5 separate regions of the Homo sapiens genome follow, and all the other regions are linked to region 5. The links are contacts of gene promoters, found by promoter capture Hi-C in blood cells and fetal thymus (Javierre and others, 2016). All regions are on one chromosome and are shown on one strand. Each heading gives the region's core, a stretch centred on a gene start or on the middle of the fragment in contact. The rest is flanking DNA. Distances are from core to core; before and after follow the strand shown. Region 1 overlaps TMEM68 (transmembrane protein 68). Region 2 overlaps TGS1 (trimethylguanosine synthase 1). Region 3 overlaps TGS1 (trimethylguanosine synthase 1). Region 4 overlaps TMEM68 (transmembrane protein 68). Region 5 holds the start of MOS (MOS proto-oncogene, serine/threonine kinase).

Evidence for each region. The method cuts DNA at HindIII sites, captures the fragments that hold promoters and counts their contacts. A CHiCAGO score of 5 or more calls a contact.
Region 1: a contact is called between a fragment that was not itself captured here and the fragment with the promoter of MOS in region 5, in 1 of 17 cell types (neutrophils). The highest score is 5.1, in neutrophils.
Region 2: a contact is called between a fragment that was not itself captured here and the fragment with the promoter of MOS in region 5, in 1 of 17 cell types (naive B cells). The highest score is 5.6, in naive B cells.
Region 3: a fragment that was not itself captured here is called in contact with the fragment with the promoter of MOS in region 5 in 1 of 17 cell types (total B cells); the score reaches 5.5 in total B cells.
Region 4: a contact is called between a fragment that was not itself captured here and the fragment with the promoter of MOS in region 5, in 2 of 17 cell types (total B cells and neutrophils). The highest score is 6.9, in total B cells.

What each region holds. Positions count from the first base shown.
Region 1 is chr8:55,742,236-55,745,128 of GRCh38, forward strand. TMEM68 (transmembrane protein 68) reads right to left here. Exons shown (of 8, transcript NM_001286657.2): 6 at 2,826-2,886; 7 at 1,246-1,385. Among named protein-coding and RNA genes, the nearest start is that of TMEM68, 30 kb to the right of the region's middle. The HindIII fragment of the contact is 6,352 bases long and covers 1-2,893 here.
Region 2 is chr8:55,802,177-55,805,068 of GRCh38, forward strand. It overlaps TGS1 (trimethylguanosine synthase 1), which reads left to right. Exons shown (of 13, transcript NM_024831.8): 9 at 281-430; 10 at 2,717-2,860. Among named protein-coding and RNA genes, the nearest start is that of TGS1, 30 kb to the left of the region's middle. The HindIII fragment of the contact is 2,479 bases long and covers 77-2,555 here.
Region 3 is chr8:55,781,554-55,784,417 of GRCh38, forward strand. TGS1 (trimethylguanosine synthase 1) reads left to right here. Exons shown (of 13, transcript NM_024831.8): 2 at 1,195-1,259. Among named protein-coding and RNA genes, the nearest start is that of TGS1, 9.5 kb to the left of the region's middle. The HindIII fragment of the contact is 456 bases long and covers 1,097-1,552 here.
Region 4 is chr8:55,763,298-55,766,068 of GRCh38, forward strand. It overlaps TMEM68 (transmembrane protein 68), which reads right to left. Exons shown (of 8, transcript NM_001286657.2): 2 at 639-683. Among named protein-coding and RNA genes, the nearest start is that of TMEM68, 8.7 kb to the right of the region's middle. The HindIII fragment of the contact is 1,101 bases long and covers 949-2,049 here.
Region 5 is chr8:56,112,677-56,115,376 of GRCh38, forward strand. It overlaps MOS (MOS proto-oncogene, serine/threonine kinase), which reads right to left and starts at 1,306. Exons shown (of 1, transcript NM_005372.1): 1 at 266-1,306. The coding sequence starts at 1,306. The coding sequence ends at 266. RefSeq lists an enhancer at 685-1,185. The HindIII fragment of the contact is 4,963 bases long and covers 1-2,700 here.

The DNA.
Region 1 (2,893 bases), core at 15-2,514, 370 kb before region 5:
GGAGGAAGGGGAAATGGGAAGTTGGTGTTCAACAGGTATAGTCCGTTTTGCAAGATGAAAAAATTCTAGAGACCTGTTGCTCAATAATGTGAATGTACTTAACAGTACTGAACTGTATGCTTAAAAATGGTTAAGATAGTACATGTATGTGTTTTTACCATAATTTGTTTTACTATGTTTTACCATATTATGTGTTTACCATATGTTTTACCATAATGTTTTTACCATAATTTATATTTTAAAATATAAATCAGACTATATATATACCAAAGACTATATAAAAGTCATAATCAAAATATAATCATCCCATTTTATTTTTTGAGAGACAGTGTCTCACTCTGTTGCCCAGGCTGGAGTGCAGTGGCACAATCATAGTTCACTGTAACCTTGACCTCCTGGCTTCATGATATCCTCCTACCTCAGCCTCCCAAGGTGCCGGGATTACAAGTGTGAGCCACCAAGCATGGCCCATTCATCCCATTTTCTAAGTGATTCAGTTAACATAACATTTATTGCATTTAACAAGAATGGGGTAAAAAAGAAAAAAAGGAGAACATGACATTTGTAGGGTTTTTTTTTTTTTGTAGTTTTATACTCTCTGAAAGTATAATTATGAGGCAGGCAGGCTTTTCTCCTCTTTATCCTCCTTCATCTCTTTGCAAAAACTAACATTACTGACCATTCCCACTTTTTACTAAAACCTCACCTGCTGACTTCTGTCACACAAATTTACTTGTTCTCTTACCTCTCTGCCAGTTCTCTTTCAGTCAGCTCTGGCACTTCTTCGTTGGCCTTCTCCTTCAGTGCTACATCTCCTGAAGTCTGTTCTCAGCACTTTTCTTTCTTTCTCACCTGCCTTGTAAAGCTCATGGCTTAAGTAACTGTCTCAGTGCAAATGACTGAAATCTCCATCATCAATTCTGACTTTCTCCCAAACTCCAGTCCAATATTTCCAAAAACCTATGCATAGGAATATATTCCTATCCTACAAGTTACCATAAATTCTATCACTGGCCCCCACCCACTAAATGTCTGTAGCACTCCCCTCACGGCCCCAACTCCTGCCTGTAGTGACAATAAGTCTCCAGGGATTAGCAAATGTTCCCTAGGGTATACAATCACCTCTGGTTGAGAACCACTGACCTAGACATGCTTGTAGAATATAAAAATAAATCAATGAGATTCAAAATATAATAATTGAAAATAAAAATCTGTCCTAAAACTAAAAAAGAAAAAGCAATTTACCTTTTCAGCTAATTCTTCCGCTGTTATCTGTGGGTCATACGGAATGGGGTCGCCTAAATAGGTCCGTAACTTCACTGGAAAACCTCCATACATTGGAGCAAATGGATAGCGGAATTTTTCATAAAGCCACCTAAATAACCCTGTTTTAGAGTAAATACAATCATTTTAACTTGTTAAGTATTCTGACCATGTAACTGTAAACTTTCAAATTAATTATGTAGGACTTACAGGAAGGTGGCAAAAAGTATCACTTCTTGGCAATTAATACAATTTTTTTAAAAAGAAGAGCTTTTCATCAATTTTAACAAATATATCACACCAATGCAAGATATTAATAATAGGAGAAACTAGGGGATGGTGAGAAGATTTATGAGAACTCTCTGTACTTTCTATAAACATAAAAATGCCCCCCAAAAAAGTTTATTAATTATTTTTTAAAATGAGCTTTTAAAGTACAGGAATTAAACAAAAATAAGTAAACAATGAATAAATAAAAATAAAATACAGTAATTTTAAAAGGCAAACAAGTTACTATTATTGCAAAACAAAGGCTAAACTGCTACCAAACTACTAGAGGTGAAAAAGTCTATAGAGTCTCACAAATAAGTAACTTAGATAAATAAAAGACCAAAAAAAGGAAGAATAAATTTATGTAAATATGAGACTATAATGCAAAATAAACTAGGTAAAGACAAAATAATATTATGAATTAGGAAAAACACATCAAAGCAAATAACTACTAATACTAATGACCAAACATGAAATTTACCAGGATTAAATAAAAGTGGTAGTAATATAAAAACAAACTGACAGACTAAATTTTTTTTTTTTTTTTTTTTTTTTGAGACGGAGTCTCGCTCTGTCGCCCAGGCTGGAGTGCAGTGGCACGATCTCGGCTCACTGCAAGCTCCTCCTCCCTGGTTCACGCCATTCTCCTGCCTCAGCCTCCTGAGTAGCTGGGACTATAGGTGCCCGCCACCACACCTAGCTAATTTTGTTTGTATTTTTAGTAGAGACGGGGTTTCACCACGTTAGCCAGGATGGTCTCAATCTCCTGACCTTGTGATCCACCCACCTCGGCCTCCCAAAGTGCTAGGATTACAGGCATGAGCCACCGCTCCCGGCCGCTACAAAATATTTTTAAAAACAACAAGAAGTGACAAATAAACCAAAGCAAATGCTATTTCCTTAGGTAGTTAATCTTAGTTCAATATCATATTTTCATCCATTTTTAAAGCTGTAACTTCTGGGGTGAGTTAAAAAGATTGTTGGGATAGTTTGTAAATGTATTCTAAACCTTGTCACCATGGTTTAAAACAATAAACTAGCTAATTCACTGTGAAGTTTTTAAAAGCCCATTTGAAGAACTTCAGTGTGTATATGTACTCTCAACAAAAATTCAGCATTAAGAACTGTCATTACGTAGAACTAGTTATCATTTGGACTTTAAACAGAAAAACGTCTAAATAGTATATCCATTTTCTAAAGATAATAATTCAAAAGGTTTCCTTGTAGGGTTCAACAGCCCAAATATTTTAAAAATTACATTGTAATTTAAAACCATACAAATCAGAACTTACTTGTTCCTCCAAGTGATCTAAATCCTTCTCGAATATTTTGTGTAAACATAGGAATAATGGGCTAAAGA
Region 2 (2,892 bases), core at 66-2,565, 310 kb before region 5:
GAGCCAGACTTCGTCTCTAAATAAATAAATAAATGAATGAATGAATGGAGCTTAAAGACCCTCGGTTACTTTCCCAAGCTTACAAAGCCAATAAGTAGCAAAATGCTGGTGGTGATTGAAGCCAGTGGCGTTTCCATCAGGCTCTCCTGTTTCTCTGGGCGTGTCATTATATACATGTTCTGCTTGTAATTATTTGATGTGGCTTCATTTTTAGATAAACTCACCTGTGATACTAATTTTTTTCTTAGTGAGCATCTATATTCTTTGTATTTTATTTTAGCTGAAGTGAAAAAGAAGAAGAACAAGAAGAAGAACAAAAAGGTGAATGGTCTGCCTCCTGAAATAGCTGCTGTTCCTGAGCTGGCAAAATACTGGGCCCAGAGGTACAGGCTCTTCTCCCGTTTTGATGATGGGATTAAGTTGGACAGAGGTAAAGTATATATGTATTTTTTAGCTTTATTTTGAAACCACTTCAAACTTAAAAAGAAAGTTATAAGAATAATACAGGGAATGTTCATATCCCCTTTACCCAGATTCAGCTATTTTCAACATTTTGCCCCGTTTACGTTCTCATTCTCTCTCCATATGTATGTGTGTGTATCTTTTTCTGATCAGTACTTAACACACATCATGCTCATACTTCTTAATACTTTAGTGTATATTTGCTAAGGACAAGTATATTTTTGTTTAAAATAGTGAATTATCAACTTAACATTGTTCCAATATTTTAATCTACAGTTTATACTCTAATTTCATTAATTGTCCTAATCTTGTCCTTTATCACGTTTTTTTTTTCCTTCCAGTATAGGATCATGTATCATTGCGTTTATTTTTCAAGTTCTTTAGTTGCCTTTAATGTGGAATGTTTCCTTAGCCTTTTTTGTCTTTCATGACTGACATTTTTCAAAGGATCAATGGCCATTTATTTTATAGGATGCCCTTCAATTTGGGGGGGTGTGTGTGTGTGTGTGTGTATTTTTAAAATTTCAGACTTGGGTTTAATCTGTATTTGTAGCACGTTAGGATAGATAGCAAAAGCAATTGATAAATTATTAAACAGAAAACCTGATGAAGAAATATCTAGTGCAGAAGGATACAATTTAATGAATTAACTTCGCAAATTTTGAATTCTTTCTCCAGCTTTCCTGCTGTGATCTGCAACAGCTTACTTAACTCAGTCTTGCAGACTGATGCTCGTTTTCATATTGGGGTTACCTAAATATTGGTTTTTATTAACTATCAAAATCAGAAGTTCTTGATCTATGATGGAATTTCAGGGGTTCTCTGACCCTTTTAAAACAATTTGCAAAATGCTGTGTATTGGAAAAAGTACGTAGGAATTTGTAAGGAGAAATAAGGCTGGAAAACACTTGCAATTCTATAAAAGTGTATATTCTTATTTTTCCAGTATTGAAGAGCCATTTAAAGTTTTGGTAAGGGGAGACAACAGGAAAATTAACGCACATTATTTTTATTTATTTATTTTTCTTTTCTTTTCTTTTTATTTTTTCTTTTCTTTTTTTTTTTATTTTTTTTAGACAGGGTCTCACTCTGTCACCCACGCTGGAGTACAGTGGCACAATCTTGGCTCAGCAACCTCCACCTCCCAGGCTAAAGCAATCCTTATGCCTCCGCCTCCTAAGTAGCTGGGATTACAAGCAAGCACTACCATGCTTGGCTAATGTTTTGTAGAGACAGGGTTTTGCCATGTTGCCCAGGCTGCTCTCAAACTCCTGTGCTCAAGTGATCCACCACGCCCAGCCCAGCACATCATTTTGTTCAGATAATTGTCTTTCTGAAAAATGTAAATTTTTTCTACTAGGAAAGAAGGAGGTCAGTATTCTCTTTACTCTAGAGTGGACACAGGACCTCATTTCTGACAATGATGAGGGCTCTGCTATTCCTCCTGTACTTCTGCAACCCTATGGCCTTTTGCCATCCAGTTCCTTGCTTTTTCCGACCCTTTAAAAGCATGCAGTTTTGGCCAGGCATGGTGGCTCATGCCTGTAATCCCAGCACTTTGGGAGGCTGAGGCAGGCAAATCACTTGAGGCCAGGAGTTCAAGACCAGCCTGGCTAACATGGCAAAACTCTGTCTCTCCTAAAAATACAAAAATTGGCTGGGCATGGTAGCGTGTGCCTGTAGTCCCAACTACTCAGGAGGCTGAAGCATGAGAATTGCTTGAACCCAGGAGGCGGAAGTTGCAATGAGCCAAGATCATGCCGTTGCACTCCAGCCTGGGCAACAGAGCAAGACACTGTCTCCAAAAAAAAATGGAGTTTTTTCTGGAGTGTCCAATACAAATCCAGGCTATTGCTTCAACCTTAGGAGTGAAATAATTGGGAAACTCAGCGGAGTGTGGGGGAGCTAGCCAATTAGAGCAGCTAGTTCTCTATTTTCCACAGGAGTCAGTAGTTAAAGCCTCAAAGAGAAACATCAAAATTGTAAATTCAGTTATTGGAAAGATGGAGGTATACAGTATTACAAAAGAATTAGGTTAAGAATTGAGGTCATCATTTCTGTGGAAATTGGGAATGGTACTGCTTTTTATAACAAGCTTTGAATTTTTTTCTTTAAAACTGGGTGATTTATAATTTTTTAAAAAGGGAAACTAAGCTTTTTAAAAGTATGTAAGATATAGTAATGTTTGCTATGTTTATGCTTGCCTTGGCTTCTTGAAATTGAACATGCTAACACAAATACTCTTCCTTTGCAGAGGGCTGGTTTTCAGTTACACCCGAGAAGATTGCTGAACACATTGCTGGCCGTGTTAGTCAGTCCTTCAAGTGTGACGTTGTAGTAGACGCATTCTGTGGAGTTGGAGGAAATACCATTCAGTTTGCCTTAACAGGAATGAGAGGTAATTAGCCATCAATGGAAGTGAACTATTTT
Region 3 (2,864 bases), core at 75-2,574, 330 kb before region 5:
CTTTAGGTGCTGGCGGGCAGACCAGTGATGCCCCCTGTGCAGCTCCTGCTTCCCACCCCCAGTGCCCATGTTCCTGGGGACCAGTTGCTGCCAAAGCACATTTGCACGTCACCCCCTTGCCTGTTCATCATCCTGCTGAGTCACCACCTACTTTACATTTAATATAGTATCTCCAAAAAAGAAGCAAGAGGATGTGAAATAGAGCAAGTACACTAGAATTTTATTTAGTTAAATTTATTGTAGCTCCATTAGAAAAGTTATGTTAGCTTCCACTTGCAATTGGCCTTCTTGTGGCAGTTACAGTGGAGTTTATTACAGCTGAATTTATAGTCAGGAAGATATTAAAAGCAGAGTCTTCCACTTTTTCTTAAGTATTCTGTTAGGTTTATTTTGGTAACCTTTGCTCAGACCATGAATACCTTGTCTACTGTTCACAATGGATAGTTTGTCTTATTAGCAAATGGATTAGTGTCTGCATATTGATTTATATGTATGTAAGCTAAATCTCTCCACTGTTATTCACAACAAAATTTAGAGAACACCCCATTGTTTATGTATCATAAGGAATATCAGATGTCCAGAAGAACTTACACTTTATTTATTTATTTATTTATTTATTTATTTATTTATTTATTTATTTATTTTGAGATAGATTTTTGCTCTTGTCGCCCAGGCTAGAGTGCAGTGGTGTGATCTCAGCTCACTGCAACCTCTGTCTCCCGGATTTAAGCAATTCTCCTGCCTCAGCCTCCCTAGTAGCTGGGATTGTAGGCGCCTGCCACCACGCCCAGCTAATTTGTGTTTTCGATAGAGATGGGGTTTCATCATGTTGGCCAGGCTGGTCTCAAACTCCTGACCTCAGGTGATCTGCCCACTTCAGCCTCCCAAAGTGCTGGGATTACAGGTGGGAGCCACTGTGCCCAGCCTTAATTTTAGTAACTAGCAGTTATAGTAATAAATGCTACCATGTATTAAGCATTGTGCTAAATATTTTACATATACTATCAGTCCTTACAACAACTCCATGACAAATGTATTATTGCCTCTACATTATAAGTGAGGGAAATGTATTAGCAGATTGCTTTTCTGTTTCATAAGCTTTTTATTAATTAATCTATGATGGCTCGAGATTTCTTTCCCTCTAAACTGATGGCTTAATTCATTTCAATATGAACTGCTTAATCTGCTTCGCAGGGATCGAAAATTGTACAATTTGGGATTAAAAGGCTATTACATCAGAGACAGTGGCAACAATTCAGGTAATATAGTATAAAATTCTATAAACCTTTTTTGCTGAAATTAGCCATAATGTGTTAATTTATGTATAATTTGTTATAATATTGTATTGATTTGTTAGCATAAAATATAAATGCCAAATAATTCTGTAATCAGACAATTTTTATTTTCTTTTATAACATGGTTCTGGAATCTCTATGAAAGCAGATCTTTTATTTTTCTATAGCTCCTGTGCTGACTTAATGTAGCCTCTTTTGCTGTGTGTAGTGTTCCTTCCTGAGTTGCCACCATTAGATAAGAGCAACCTGGAATTTAAAGCTTTGAAAAGTAGGGAATATGTGGTTTCTGGCTGGACGTGGTAGCTCATGCCTATAATCCCAGCATTTTGGGAGGCCAAGGCAAGCAGATCACTTGAGGTCAGGAGTACGAGACCAGCCTGGCCAACATGGTAAAACCCCATCTCTAATAAAAATACAAAAATTATCCAGGTATGGTGGTGGGCACCTATAATCCCAGCTACTCAGGAGGCTGAGGCAAGAAAATCCCTTGAACCCAGGAGGCAGAGTTTGCAGTGAGCTGAGATTGTGCCACTGCACTCCAGCCTGGGCAACAGAGTGAGACTCCATCTCCAATTTAGAATATGTAAATTCTAATCATAATACACTTCATGAGAAGTGTATTATGTAGGTAAATGCTGCAGGATAAAAAAATGCTACGGGATAAAAATTCCAGGTGAACATCTATAGTCTTTTGCCTGAAGTAAAGAGACTGTCATCTTGGTTAACTTTCCCAAGTAACAAATATAATTTATACTGTACATTGAGCCTCACTTTGATGTCTCAAACTTCCCTACTGCATTTGTCCTTCCACATAGACCTTTTGTGTTCCTAGACACAGAGAAAATTACAGCGTGGAGTTAGAAGCCAAAGTCAGCCCAAGTACAGTGTCATAGTTACCTTCGGAAACCCTTTAACTCTCATGGCGATGGAACAAATTACTGTTTCTTCAGTTGATCACTGGATGGAATGTTTGGTTTGTGTTTCAGTGCTATGCTATACAAATAAAGTTCCTATAACACTAGGCTCCTCGAGCATAAGAAAATATGCATACAATGAAAGGAACATAAAACTTAGCTTACTCATTTTCTCCATTTTGCTGTCTCCTGAGCTTTCGTAAGTATATTTGAATGGAGTAGTGAGTGGAATCCCCTTCATTATTTAGAAAGGTATCTTTCTCCCTCTTGTAGCAGAATTTGCACACAAGAGATTTCTCTTTATCAGTCTTCATTTTGGCTATATAAGATTTACTGTTCTGTTGCCTGAGACCATCAAGCTGGAGTGCAGCCCAATGCTAATTGAGTGTGCTAATACATAAAATGATTTTTTGTTATCTCACATTTTAAAGTTAATAGAGCACTTGAATGGCATATGTTCAATTAATGGTATAATTACTATTAGATAACCATATTGGTGTAAAGTAAAACTTACTTTGTTGTAATAAATGGTTTTTCTATAAGAATTAGATTCAGAGAGCTTGAAAAAAATCTTCCAGTTTAGGGGATTTCAAACCTTTCTCTTTTTGAGAGAGAGAGAGGGTCTTGCTCTGTTGTCTGAGTGGTGATCGCTTAA
Region 4 (2,771 bases), core at 249-2,748, 350 kb before region 5:
AATATAATTTCAGATTGATTTTAATAATTTGACTCACATCTTAATTGGATCATGTTGAAAAATTAGATCTTAAACCAGGTCACATTGAGATAATTTTTTTTTCTTCTTTGAGATGGAGTCTCACCCTTTTGCTCGGGCTGGAGTACAGTGGCACGATCTCAGTCACTGAAACCTCTGCCTCCCAGGTTCAGGTAATCCTCCTGCCTCAGCATCCCGAGCAGCTGGGACTACAGGCATGTGCCACCATGCCTGGCTAATTTTTGTATTTTTAGTAGAGACAGGGTTTCACTATGTTGGCCAGGCTGGTCCCAAACTCCTGACCTCAAGTGGTCCACCCACCTCAGCCTCCCAAAGTGCTGAGATTACAGGCATCAGCCACCATGCCCAGCCATATTGAGATAACTCTGCACAAAAGAAAACATCAATATCTACCTAATTCAGTAAAAGTAACCCAATTCTTTACGAAATGATTACATACATTAATGGATATTGTTTTTTTATAGAGAAACAGATTTACAAAAGTTCATTATGCAATAAAAATTTATCAGTACTGTTTTTATCTTAAATCTTAAATGACTGAAAATATAGCTGTATAATTATTTTACAAATTCACTCTCTAAAACAGTCATTGGACTTACCAGAAGTTAGATAAATATCTTGTCCCAAACTTCAATGTCTCTATTCTGGAAAGCACAGTAAACAAATGTAAGAAATAAATTACTAAGAAAAAAAAAGATAATCATTAATACCTAGAGTTAGCATTTCTATAAAATAAACAGCAAGAGACATTCATAAATGTTTAAGAAATATGATTATAGGCCCACACTGGTATATTACAATTAAAAAGTACACTCATGCTACCATTGCTTTGGTGAAGACAACTCTACACTGTTTAGTGCCACTATATAGAGCCCCACCTAAGAATTTATTTTAAACAAAGTTTTCAAAAGCTTTGTTTCTTAGGAGAAAAAGTATGAAGATATATAACTGACTATGATTCTTTTTAGTAACTTTGCCAGATAACCTGAAGGTGAAACATAACATTCAATTATACAATTATATTAGCCCTATGATAATATTTTCCTACAAAAGATTTCCTTTCTCCATACTTTGATTGTATTCTTAGAACTATTTTATCATTATTCCATACTATATAATCTTACTGAAAATTATCTCAAGTCCTTTGTAGCTGAGGCAAAAAATGAATAAATGAAAGCAAAGGATGAAAGGAGAGGAGGAGATGTACATATAAGAAAAATGTATTGTTTTTATTCTAAGATTATCTTGCTAACTGGCTTATTAGGAGGGCAGGCACTGACTTGTTCTCCCAGGAATGAAACATTTCATCTAACTTCCTTGTAACCAATAGCATTTACTTGTGAGAAATCTGGTCTGTTATGGTTACAGGAGATGAACATAGCAAACATTGAGCCCACAACTTGGGCTTTATTTACATCATCATCTAATCAATCCATATAAAAAGTCAAATCACCAGCTGGGCGCAGTGGCTCACTCTTGTAATCCCAGCACTTTGGGAGGCCAAGGCAGGTGGATCACCTGAGGTCGGGGGTTTGAGACCAGCCTGACCAACATGGTGAAACTCCATCTCTACTAAAAATATAAAATTAGCTGGGAGTGGTGGTGCACGCCTGTAGTCCCAGCTACTCGGGAGGCTGAGGCAGGAGAAACGCTTGAACCTGGGAGGCGGAGGTTGCAGCGAGCCGAGATTGCACCATTGCACTCCAGCCTGGACAACAAGAGTGAAACTCCGTCTCAAAAAATAAAAATAAAAAAAGTCAAATCACTATAATTTACCCATGTTTGATCATTTAGAATGCAACATAGCAACCATCCATCAGAACTACTAAAAAGGTCTTCCTTATACTTAACTTCCCCGTAACTTTTCCCTACTGGACCTAGTTTTGTACCACAGACCCTCTTCCATTAAACAACCTTGTAAGTTTAAAAACAGCTGCCATGAGCCACAAAATTCCTTCTCCAGTCAGAATCCTTAATTCTTTCAACTACTTCTCAGCCCCTGGTTTCTTAAGCTTTCAGCACTCAAGACCACTCCGAGTTGCTGACTCCAGTTATCTGATACTGACAACACCATGTACGGTAACCCCTGTGCCTCCGTTTGCTAAAACCTATAAAACTAGGATAATAATCCTAACTACCTCATGAGATTACTGTGATTACATGGGCTAATCTGTGTAAAGAGCCTAGAATACCTTACATGTAATCAGTGTTACATGTTTGCTATCGCTATCATTCATAGAATCACAGCAGCTTTTTTGGTAACTCGATCATACTGACTCATTCAGCTAAAAATATGCTACTATTTTCTACATCTCTACAAACTACACTTGAAAAAAACCTTTTTGAGCCCAGCAAAGATTATACATCTCATCTGCTTATTAACTTTCATGAGGTGGGCTAAGACATAGCCTATCCTTTCAGTCTGTTTCGGGAACACAGTGGATGACATGAATGGGCTTAGGAGCCAGACTGAACATACTGGAATACTGGCTTTACAATCTTAAGCAAGTTACACCTCTCTGTGTCTCATTGTTTCTCTGAAAATGAAGATGATAAATCATTCTATAAAGACCTATTTAGCACCTATGTACCCTAATATGTACCACCCATTTCCTCAGCAGCAAATAAAGCAAAGTCTACAACCTCAAGTGACTTACATCCTAGAGGGGGAAGATAGACAGTAAACAAAGAACTAGTAAATACATGCTAGGTCAGATGATGACAGGTGCTAG
Region 5 (2,700 bases), core at 56-2,555:
AACAAATTTAAATAAATGAAATACTAGCAATGGAAAGCAAAGCACATGACTATATGAATAAGATTAGTTACTAACAGTACTGAGACAACAGGTACTAGACTTGTAGCTTTGCTAATGTGTCCTAGAAAAAGCACTGGAGACTAAAGGAGTTTTTAGTAACTTTATTTTCTAAAACTCCATCCTACAAATATGTTTTCTTCGACATCTCCACTTCCTTTAAAAACAAATAGAATCAGACAAAAACTTATCTTGACCAGGTTTTCAGTCAGCCGAGTTCAGCTTTCAAAGAGGTGAGATCCACCAAAAGCAGCCGCGCGCTCGGCCTCTGCGCCGCGCTGGGTCTCCAGCAGCGCTGGATGACGTCCCCAAGGCGCTGCCCGGGGAGCGAGTCCTCGAAGACGGCAGCGGAGAGGGACGGGCGCAGGTCGTAGGCCACCACCGCGTACAGTATGTGCTGCCGCTCCCCCGAATACGGCGCCTGCTTGGTAGTCATTTGCCAGAGAGTGATGGCAAAGGAATAAATGTCGGCTTTAGGCGTCACGCCCTCTCCTTTCAGGAGCTCCGGGGCGCGGTGGGTGTATGTGCCTCCTAGAGGGTAAGAGGGTGTCTGGAAGCACAGCAGATCTTCCAACTTCTCAGAGCAACCGAAGTCACTAATTTTACAGACATCCTGCTCACTGATCAAGATGTTCGCGGGCTTCAGGTCCAAGTGCACAATGCTTTGCGAGTGGAGGAAGAGCAGGCCGTTCACAACATCTAGTGAGTACTTGAGACACTTTCCCAAACTTAACTGTCCTCCAGTGCGGCAGTGAGGCTCCCCTGCGTCCCCCTCAGGGTGGCCGGCGGCGCCATAGATGACTTGGTGTAAAGTGACGTTGCCACCGAACTCCATGATGATGGTCCCTAGGCTATTGGACCCTGCGGGCGTGCGCGTGCTGGCAGCCACCACGCGCACGATGTTATCGTGGCGCAGCCTTGCTACGTTGAGCTCAGCCCAGAAACTCCGCCGAGATGCTAGTCGGTTCTTGGTGCACTTGTTCACTTGCTTTATGGCCACAGGAACACCGCGGTAAGTCGCCTTGTACACCGAGCCAAACCCTCCAGCTCCCAGCCTCTGCAGCAAGCACACCTGCTCCCAGTCAATGGAGCACCAGGCCAGCCGGCGCGGCAGCCGCGGGGCCCGAGGAAGAGTGGCCCCCAGAAGCAGCTTCGCAGGTAGCTCTGAGGGACTGCTGCAGGGCCGCGCGTCCACCGATGGGGAAAACTCGCTCCGGAGGTAGGGGCGTAGGGCCAGGGGCGAGGGCATCGCACTTTGCAGGGGGACACCAGGGCCGCTGGAGTGAATGAAGAGACTAGGGGAAACCGCGGGACTTTGGAAACATGACTGACTACTCCTTCGCTCCACCTCATCCCTTTTCTCCTTTTCCTTCACTTGTTCCAAATGAGCTACATCTGTGCTGTCACTCAGCAAGAGTTTTTATCAGATGGAGGGAGAAACCGGAATGAAGCACAGCTATCCCTTTCAGATGAAAGCATTTCCCTTCCACACTTGAAGTGAATTCTTATAAAAACAAGCTCATGCCAGACAAACAGCATGGAGCTGCCTCAGAACTCACCCCTCTTTTACATTATTTCTTAAATTATAATAAAATACGTTTTTTTCAAGTCTCATCCGCTGCACATTATCAGTCCTCAGACTAAAGAGACCACAAAGCACAATGAAATTGTTTCACACTTTGCAGGCTGTAATGATTGTTAGTGTCATTCTCCAGCTGCATTAAATCACTTCCAGCAGGTATTGGCTAAGAGTTAAAATGCAAACAGCAGACATTTGTTTAACCAATTACAGGGAAAAACTAGGTGCAACATTCATATGGATAAAAAATTGCAACCTTAATCAATCCAAATAGAATCACTGATACAGGTCATAACACACACCTAAATTCATCAGTGGAAAGGAGAATCCCCTGACACTCTATGCAGCTTACACAGCAAATTAGCAAGACATCTTAGCAACATACTGACTTCCTAACAATCCTTCCCTTCCAAGGCGATTTGGCCCAACCGGTCAGCTCACTTGCAAGAGAGATTCTAGACTTCGTAGCAAATGAGTTACCGAAGTTTTGAACCAGAGTTGGGGGAGACAAAAGAATAGAAATGATTCAGAGCTGTGATCAGGGCTTCAAATAATAACACATATGGGAGAATTGTAGAAGAGGAAAAATCTGAAGAAATAAAAATGGCACAAAATCACTGGTACCTACATATAATGTAGAAAACCAGAAGTTGGAATGAAATTCAGGGTATTGGCCATCAGACAATAAGATCTTTCTTTCTGATTTTTATAATGAAAATTAATTTTCTACCAAGTGCAGTGAGTTATGCCTATAATACCAGTGCTTTGGGAGGCTAAGGTGGAAGGGCCACTTGAGGCCAAGAATTTGAGACCTGCCTCTACAAAAAATAATAATAAAGTTAGCTGAGTGTGGTGGTGCACTCCTATAGTCCTAGCTACTTTGGAGGCTGGGGCGGGAGGAGACTTGAACTGAGGAGTTTGAGGCTATAGTGAGCTATGATCGTGCCACTGCACACCAGGCTGGATGATGGAGCAAGATCCTGACTCTAAGCAAAAAATTAATTTCATACCATATCTTTGGAAAAAGGACCAATAATATTACCATATTCATGAGAAAACACACA